Regions from separate parts of the Homo sapiens genome. Here region 1 is linked to region 2. The links are contacts of gene promoters, found by promoter capture Hi-C in blood cells and fetal thymus (Javierre and others, 2016). All regions are on one chromosome and are shown on one strand. Each heading gives the region's core, a stretch centred on a gene start or on the middle of the fragment in contact. The rest is flanking DNA. Distances are from core to core; before and after follow the strand shown. Region 1 overlaps LINC00523 (long intergenic non-protein coding RNA 523). Region 2 holds the start of RTL1 (retrotransposon Gag like 1).

The links. Contacts are between HindIII fragments. The CHiCAGO score rates a contact against its expected background, and 5 or more counts as called.
Region 1: a contact is called between a fragment that was not itself captured here and the fragment with the promoter of RTL1 in region 2, in 1 of 17 cell types (megakaryocytes). The highest score is 7.0, in megakaryocytes.

Annotation. Positions count from the first base shown.
Region 1 is chr14:100,661,539-100,665,575 of GRCh38, reverse strand. The region is part of intron 1 of LINC00523 (long intergenic non-protein coding RNA 523); the gene reads right to left. Among named protein-coding and RNA genes, the nearest start is that of LINC00523, 6.3 kb to the right of the region's middle. RefSeq lists an enhancer at 3,855-4,037. The HindIII fragment of the contact is 267 bases long and covers 2,565-2,831 here.
Region 2 is chr14:100,902,118-100,906,089 of GRCh38, reverse strand. RTL1 (retrotransposon Gag like 1) reads left to right here and starts at 2,368. Exons shown (of 4, transcript NM_001134888.3): 1 at 2,368-2,485; 2 at 2,704-2,799. The region is part of intron 5 of MEG8 (maternally expressed 8, small nucleolar RNA host gene); the gene reads right to left. The HindIII fragment of the contact is 7,837 bases long and covers 126-3,972 here.

The DNA.
Region 1 (4,037 bases), core at 1,449-3,948, 240 kb after region 2:
AATGCTCCCAGGGCAGGGTGGCAGGAGCTGGAACCGAAGGGAATTCAGGATGCCATTTAGACTACAGGGTCACAAGGAGGAAAAGGATGTCTCTTTGGGGGTGGGGTATGGAGAGACGCCACAGACAAGGCAGAAAGTCTTTGTTTTCCTGGGGCCCCCAGCACACAGCAGGAATGGCTAAAAGCCTAGAGGACACAGCAGAGCTTCCAGCCTGTTTCTTGCTCGTCTCAGTCATTGAAACTCCTCAATTTCATGATTGTACCAGCCCACATCTGTTTATGCGCTCATCGGAATCCGCGCTGACAATGTATTTGTTTAATTTCCAGCAAGAAGGGGAAGATTTGTCAGGGTCAGGGATACGTCTTGCATAAAACATTCTGATTAAACTCTGTTGGCCAGAGAATTACTTTCCCATCATACTTAGAGAAATCTAGTTGTTTCCTAATTGGAGTCGCTGCCTCGCCAGCGTGTTCACCATTTACAGTTCACTCTCTGCCAGATGTTGCTTGATTGTAAATTCCTCCCCAGAAGGGGGCCCCAGGTGTCTTGGGAGAGGTGCTAACTGGCACAGGCCATGGGAGGCCTCTGCATGCTGAGCTGGAGGAGAGCCAGTGTCCTAACTGGAGGCCGGGAAGAGAACGTCCTTGTCTACAGTGGCCGAGGGGGGTGGTTATTAAAAAACATGGGACCAGGGCCAGGTGCGGTGGCTCATGCCTGTAACCCCAGCACTTTGGGAGGCCGAGGCTGGTGGATCACAAGGTCAGGAGTTCGAGACCAGCCTGGCCAGTATGGTGAAACCCTGTCTCTACTAAAAACACAAAAAAATTAGCCGGGCATAGTGGCACACACCTGTAATCCCAGCTACTCAGGAGGCTGAGGCAGGAGAATCGCTTGAACAAGGGAGGTGGAGGTTGCAGTGAGCCGAGATCAAGCCACTGCACTCCAGCCTGGGTGACAGAGCAAGGCTCTGTCTCAAAAAAACTAAAACAAAAAAACCATGGAACCAGCAGAGTGTCTCAGCATCATCAGCTGTCTGATAGGTGAGAGCCCACTTGGAGCCAGAGATGGGGAGGGCTATTGTGCTAGCTTGCTGAGGGCTGAGTCGGTCCTTGGCCTTGACAGAAGGGGCCGGCAGAGGGGCACTGCAGGAAGCCAGCAAGCAGGAGGCCTCACTCAGCCTTGGATGGGGCAGAGAGATCGCCAAGAAGGCGCAGTAAGGAGCTGTCTGCCTCCCGAGAGGGTTTTGGGTGAGGACAGACTTTGAGTCTGTCTTGAGGAGAGTGGGGGGGAAGCAGGAGGAAGAATGGGGAGCCACCACTTACTCTATGTCTATTGAATGCCAATTCTTCATATATGTAGCAGTCCTGCTAAGTAGTGGTTATTACGCCTATTTTTCAGATATGGAAGCTGAGGCTCGCAGAAGTATAGTGGCTCATCTGGAGTCACAGCCAGAAAACAGAGGCACAGGAATGTGAACACAGGACCCAGGATCAGTATACCTGGAGCCTGGCCCACCGCACACAGTAAAAACCACAGGAGGGCAGAGGAGGGGGAGGTCACCACAACCCTTGGTGCACGACCACCCACAGGAATACAGAGGTCTCTTTTCACTGTGCTGGCATGGCTCATGATCAGTCAGTATACAGGAGACACAGACCCTCCCACAGTGCCCCTTCCACGTTCACAGCAGACATTGCTAATCAATCACAGCATGCCTCCAAGCACCAACACCAACAATCAGGGTTGGTAGACTGGATGGACCAATTCGCCATCCTGGGCTAGTTCTTTGATTTTAGTGGCTGAACTGTTCAATGCAGCAGCCACGAGCCACATATCGTTACGGGGTGCCTAAAATGGAACTCACATCTAAAGTGCATTTAAGTACAAACAGCATGTTGGATTTCGAGACACAGTCTAACAAAAAAAAAGTAAAGTATCTAATAAATGTCGTGTTGATTACATGCCAAGATGATACTATTTTGGATATACCGAGTTAAAGAAAATATAACACTAATTTCACTTTTCTTGTGTACTTTTTAGAAATGTGGCTTACGTTCGGTTTCCGTTGGACAGCGCTGGTCTCGAGTTCAAGCTGTGCCAACAGCGCCCCTGGTGGCCGAAGTGGGTAAATTCATCTGACCAAGGGCCTGTTTTTCTACTGGAGACCCTGCGCAGGTTACTCCACGGTTCTGCACCTGTTTCCTCATCTGTGAAATGGGGACAATAATAGTTCCTATCTCATAGATTGCAATTCAGGAATAGATGAGTTAAAATATGGAAAGTATGTGAAGCAGCACCTGGCACCGTAATAAACGCTGAGTGACAGTTGGCTATGTTTTTATTATAGCATCTTGTTGACTGGGAGGTAGATTGCAGGCCCTTTTCTCTCCTGGGCCTCCCGATCTTGGCCCCACTCCAGAGCAGCCTCCACTCCCCAGGAGAGATAGGAGCTGACGTCCATCAGGAAGAGCACAGCTTCCTGCTGTGTACACCGGAAGAGGCCCCACCAGGCCAAAGCCATGAAGCCATCACTGGAGCCACTTCCTGTGTCTCACTAATAAGCTTCCCCATCACCCCTCACTGGGGTTCTGGTTCCTACCTGAGCTCTTGAACCCTGAGCCCAGTTCAAATCTCTGGAGTCCTCAAAGCCCCCGACACTCTTGCTGTTCCCTGACTCTCCCCACAGCATGGTTGCTGACACTGATCCTTCCAGGAAGCTGCTTAACTCAGTCCCATTTCCCAACAAGCTCTGAGAGTCATTAAAAATAATAATAGATGTGCCTTTGCAGATATAAAGCAAGAATGGCTAGTTGTGGCATTTCTGCAAAGCTTAAAAAACACAGAAAAATTATTTTTAAAAAAGGAGGGGGGAAAGGCTTTTGTAATTCCACCACCAAGAGTCAGCCACTACTTACTATCTTCCTAGCTCCCTTTCTAGAGCAGTGCTGTCCAATAAAAATGTAAAGTGAGGCCGGGTGCAGTGGCTCACACCTGTAATCCCAGCGCTTTGGGAGGCCGAGGTGGGAAGATCACCTGAGGTCAAGAGTTCGAGACCAGCCTGGCCAACATGGCGAAACCCTGTCTCTACCAAAAATACAAAAATTAGCCGGGTGTGGTGGCATGTGCCTAGAATCCCAGCGACTCAGGAGGCTGAGGCAGAAGAATCGCTTGAACCTTGGAGGCGGAGGTTGCAGTGAGCCGAGATCACGCCACTGCACTCCATTCAGCCTGGGCAAAAAAAAAAAAAAAAAAATGTAAAGTGAGCCACATAAGTAATTTCACAATTTCTAGCAACATGTTTTGAAAAGTAAATTTCACCTGGCTCTTAACCAGGTGAAATTAATTTTAACAATATATTTTATTTAACCCAATGTATTCAAAATATTATCATCTCAATGTGTAATCGATGTAGAAATCTTCACGAGATCGTTTACATTCTCCTTTTGTACTAAGTCTCTGAAGTCCCGTATGCTGCTTGCACTCACAGCACCTTTCGATTTGGTCAAACTGCATTTCAAGTGTTCAGTACCCATGTGGCTCATGGCTGCTATATCAGAGAGTGCAGGTCTAGGGTGCTTTTTAAAGCAAATGGGCGAGTGTTGAGTGTGACAATGTTGGACTGTCAAGGCCTGTAGAGTTTGGGACCCTGCTAGTCCACACTTGCCCCTGAGCCTTGCAATAATGAAATCCCTTCCTTCCTCAGGGCCAGCTGCTCCATGCACACCATATAGAATCTATACACTCTTTCCCAAGAGCTCCATGCACTATTAGGTGGGGAATCATTGGATGTCAGGAAAAGAAAGGGCAAGATAGCTCCATGGTGCCCTGGGTCGACGATGGAGAAGCATGCCTCTGAGAGCCCTCCAAGGTTAAGAAACAGGGAGTCCCCAGCACCCCTCAATCATCCTCATTCACATTGCTACTGCCCCGTTTTCCACACTTCAGTTTCCTCGGATTTCGTACTCCAGGCAGAAGCTCCAAGACGCCTAGTACTTCAGGTTTGACATCCTGCCAGCTTGGGCTCCAAGCAATGGGCT
Region 2 (3,972 bases), core at 1,119-3,618:
GAAATTTATGAGTCAATCAAGAATATTGGAATGCTACATAGATGGTGGATGATATTAAGGAAAGGCTATTAATTTTTTAACTTGTGATAATGGTGTTGTGGTTTTATTTTTAAGAAACAAAAGCTTCTTATTTAGAGATACAAACTAAAAAATGCTCAGAGGAAACAGGATGGTGTCTGAAATTTGCTTCGAAATAGTCCAGGGGTAGGGGTTGGGCAGTGGGAGTAGAGGGACAGTTTAGGGTTTAGATGAAACAAGAGGGGCCAGGGTTTGACGGCAACCGTGTCCGGGTAATGGCAAGATGAAAATTGAGTAAACAGTAAAAATACGTACTATTTTCTCTACTTTTGTGTTGTTTGCAATTTCCCATAATAAAGGGATTTTTAAATCAACAAGTGAAAATACAGTGCAGAAGATGAAGGGCTGGGGGTGAAGGGTGCCATTTAAAAGAACAGAGGGGCCTGGGGTATGAGAGAAATTTTCTGGAGTAGCAGGGAACTGATTCACAGGGGGCAAATGCCTCAAAGTGAAAAGGGAACTAGAGGGGCTGGATCCAGAGGGAAGAGAATCATTCCACGTTGAGTGGACGGAGGACGATGTACCAGGGTGCAGAGTGTTGCGGAACGAGACACCCGCCAGCTGCCCAGAGACCCTCCTGCAGCCCCCAGCGCTCCTCTCCCCACTCTCCCTCCCAGTCCCTGCCTCCCCGAGCCCTCCAGCTCTCTCCCTGACCCCTGGCTGGAAAAGGGCCTGAGGGTACCACTCTTCAAGGCAGAGCGGCCACCTGATGAGCCCTTCCCTGGGACTCTGGTCCCAATTTGGTTACTGGGACAACGCTGTCTCCCATTAGACACGCTTTGAAGGAAGACCCTGGAGTGACCGGCTCAGTCATGCTGGGAAGGATTCAGCTGTCTAGCTTTCAAATGCCTTTTTTTTTTTTTTTGGCTTTTTTATTTCTTTTGGAAAGATAAGAGTTGATGCTTTTACCCTAAAACTGTGTGCCAAGCCGCTCTGGCTATCCTCAGCCCCACTCTTCCCCTATCTCTGTAGCCCTCCTTTCCGTCCTTCATAGGCTGCAAGCTGACTGGCGCCCGACCCCAGGTCCACACCCACCTCCCTCTACCCCCTGGTCCATGCACCACTCCCGGCCTCCTCCCCCACTCTTCTCTTTCTGGCCCCGCTGCAGAGTCTCGGGCCCCTCGGCTTCCTGGGCGCCTGGCCACCACGCAGCGCCTGGAAGTGCTCCCTCCCTCATCTCTCGTTCCCCACTTTGGAAAGCCGGCCACCGGACAGGACAGCTCCCGGGACAGCTCCCGCAGCCTGCTGCATTGCAGCGCAGCCGTCTGTGAGGGAGGGGCGCAACCTGCAGCCCCCGCCCCCCGCCCCGACCACCCCCGCCCAGCAGCCCCCAGCCCCGGCACGGCCGGCTCCCCCGCCGCACCGCACGCATCTGTCGCAGTTAAAAGCGCCGCTGCCAGAGCAAAAGCGCCGGTCCCTCTTGACTGTCCCCCTCCTCACTTTTCGGGCTCAGAAATGTGGCCCAGGCAGCCCCCTTGTGGCACGTGGGGGCGCCACAGACTCTTGGCTGGTGTCTGAAGAATTCAGACTGTCTGATTCCACCGCACCGTGAGTTGGCACAAATCTTCGGTGGCCCAACTCCTACCCGATGCAGAACTCTGCTCAGCGGCCTCTCTGAGTGGGGGGCACCTCTCCCCTCCCCTCTCCCCGTCCACACCTCTCCCTTCTCCCTCCAGGGAGGAAGCGAAGGAACTCTCCTGTTGAATATTGCTCTGACAAGCAGACAGGTGTCTGGCAAACGTGATTGGGGTGGTGGGGGAAGGGGGGGGCCAGGAGGGTGGTGGGAATGGGGGCTTTTCTCGAAATGACGTTTGGTTTCCATCTCTTATCTCACAGATGGGAAACCGAGGTGCGGGGAGGGCCATAGTCCCTGTCTGTGTCAGAGTCAAGGCTGGAGATCCTCCTCCAAGTCCAGCCTGGGGCATTTCCCTGAGGTGCCGGGGCACCCTTAAGACGTACCCCTCTTCCCCCTCCCACTTGTCCAGCCCCTCCAGATCTGGTTCTCCCCGTCCGGAAGCCCTGGAGGGCCCCTGGATGTTCTCTGTCCTCTCTAACTCACTGTCCACACAAACAAGCCCAGCCCCCTCCGTCTCTATCTGCAATCTACTTGCAGACAGGCAGGGCCCTCTCCACATCAGGTTAATAATGCCATTTTCATAAGCCTCTGCCCATAGGTGCTACCACCTAATTTTGAATCTGCCCTTCAAACGGATTGGGCCACAGAGGAGCTGGGATCTCAAGCACCGCTGGGAGGTGCTTATAACTAATCAATCCGTCCCCTGCCCACCCACACCCCCCCAGCACTCGGCACAGCCTCGCTGAGCAGCCTTCAGCAGCAGGGTGTGGTGGGGAGCCTCGGAGAGTCTGGGGTTCCATCCTGGCCCAGCCTCACACCAGCTGAGAGACGGTGAGTATAGGACTTTGCCTTTCTGTGCCTCAGTTTCCTCATCAATCTAATGGGGCTCATGAGACCAGTGTGCAGGGTTATTGCCCGGGTGAGTTCTTTGCAGACAGCCCAGTTCGGGACTTGGCTCCAAGACGGGGCTCCATAAATCTCCATGCCTGCACCCCCTCTTGATCACCTCAATTTCCAGTGTCTTATTCCCTGTTTGTTTCCCCCACCAGACCGACTGAGCTTCGAGGACAGGAAGCCACCGGCATCACTAAGCCACCGGCATCACTTCATCCCCAGCCTCACGCTTGGGACTGGGCCCGGGGAAGGTAGGTACACTGTGGTGGCTTGGAGAATGAGTGCATGGATGGATGTCTGTCCCATAGTCTATGGGATGCCCGGACCCCGCTGAGTTTCTCCTCCCCAGACCCCTGTCTAAGCTGGCCCTTCAAGGAAGCCGCCGGGAAAAACTGTTCCTTTATGCCTTCATGCTTTACCCCTCGTGCTGTTATATACAATGCAAATTCTCGGTCTATTAAATGCAGATGTGGGCTCTGCATGTCATTTATGCTGCCTGCTGCATCTACTGTGAGTTCCACAGGCCGGGGGCTGCCTCCGGCTGACTTGATTTGTGCGATTAAGCCAGCAGAGGGGACTCTGCCAGGAGAGGTTCCCGTTTGTATTGGGAGCAGGGTCTTGAAAGGCCAGGCTGTTTTCTCTCTTGCGACACTTGTTACATACCTCTCTCTCCCTCCCTGGGTCCCACCGTCTACTCCACAAGCATTTATGAAGTGTCTGATGTGTGCAAGCCTACACTTATCTCATTTAGTCCTCACTTCACGCCAGTGACGGAGAAACTCTCATCTCCATTTCACAGGGGAAAAGCCGAGTCTGAAAAGTAAAGGGAATTGTCTTGCAGCTAGAGAGCAGGGAGTCAAGCCGGTCTGCCTGGCTCGGGAGCCCCCAGCCCTGCTGTGGCTGCCTACTGCTGCTGCTGCTGCTGCTGCTGCTACTGCAGGGCTGACCAGGGCTGGCCGGGAGGCCAGCAGCTCCTGCAGAAAAGGCAGGGGGCTGCATACAGAGCGTTCTCCCTAGCAACTGGAAAAGGGGCCATAGAAAACCCAAGAGGGCTGAGAAGCCGCTCAACAGATAGACATGGAGCAGCTGGCCCCAGGAGGGGAGCACCACGCCCTCCCCTGGGCTTTTAGCAGAACAGCAGGGCAAAGGGCTCTGTCCCAGGTCTAAAAGAACAGAGACAGAGGTGTTAGGACAGGTGTAGAGGCGCCCAATCCTGTTCCCACCATTGGTGGGGGTATTGCCATTCAGCACAGAAAGGAGAGGACTGAAAAGAGAGGGAGCCCACAGCCTGCAGAGATCGGAGGGCAGAGGGGGCAAGGGGGCTGCTGCACAGCCGAGGAGGCAGATGCAAAAGGCAGGGGAGGGCTCAGCAAAGCAGCTCTGCGTGCGAGCCCTGAGCAGGCTGCCTGGGGAGAGAGGGAGCT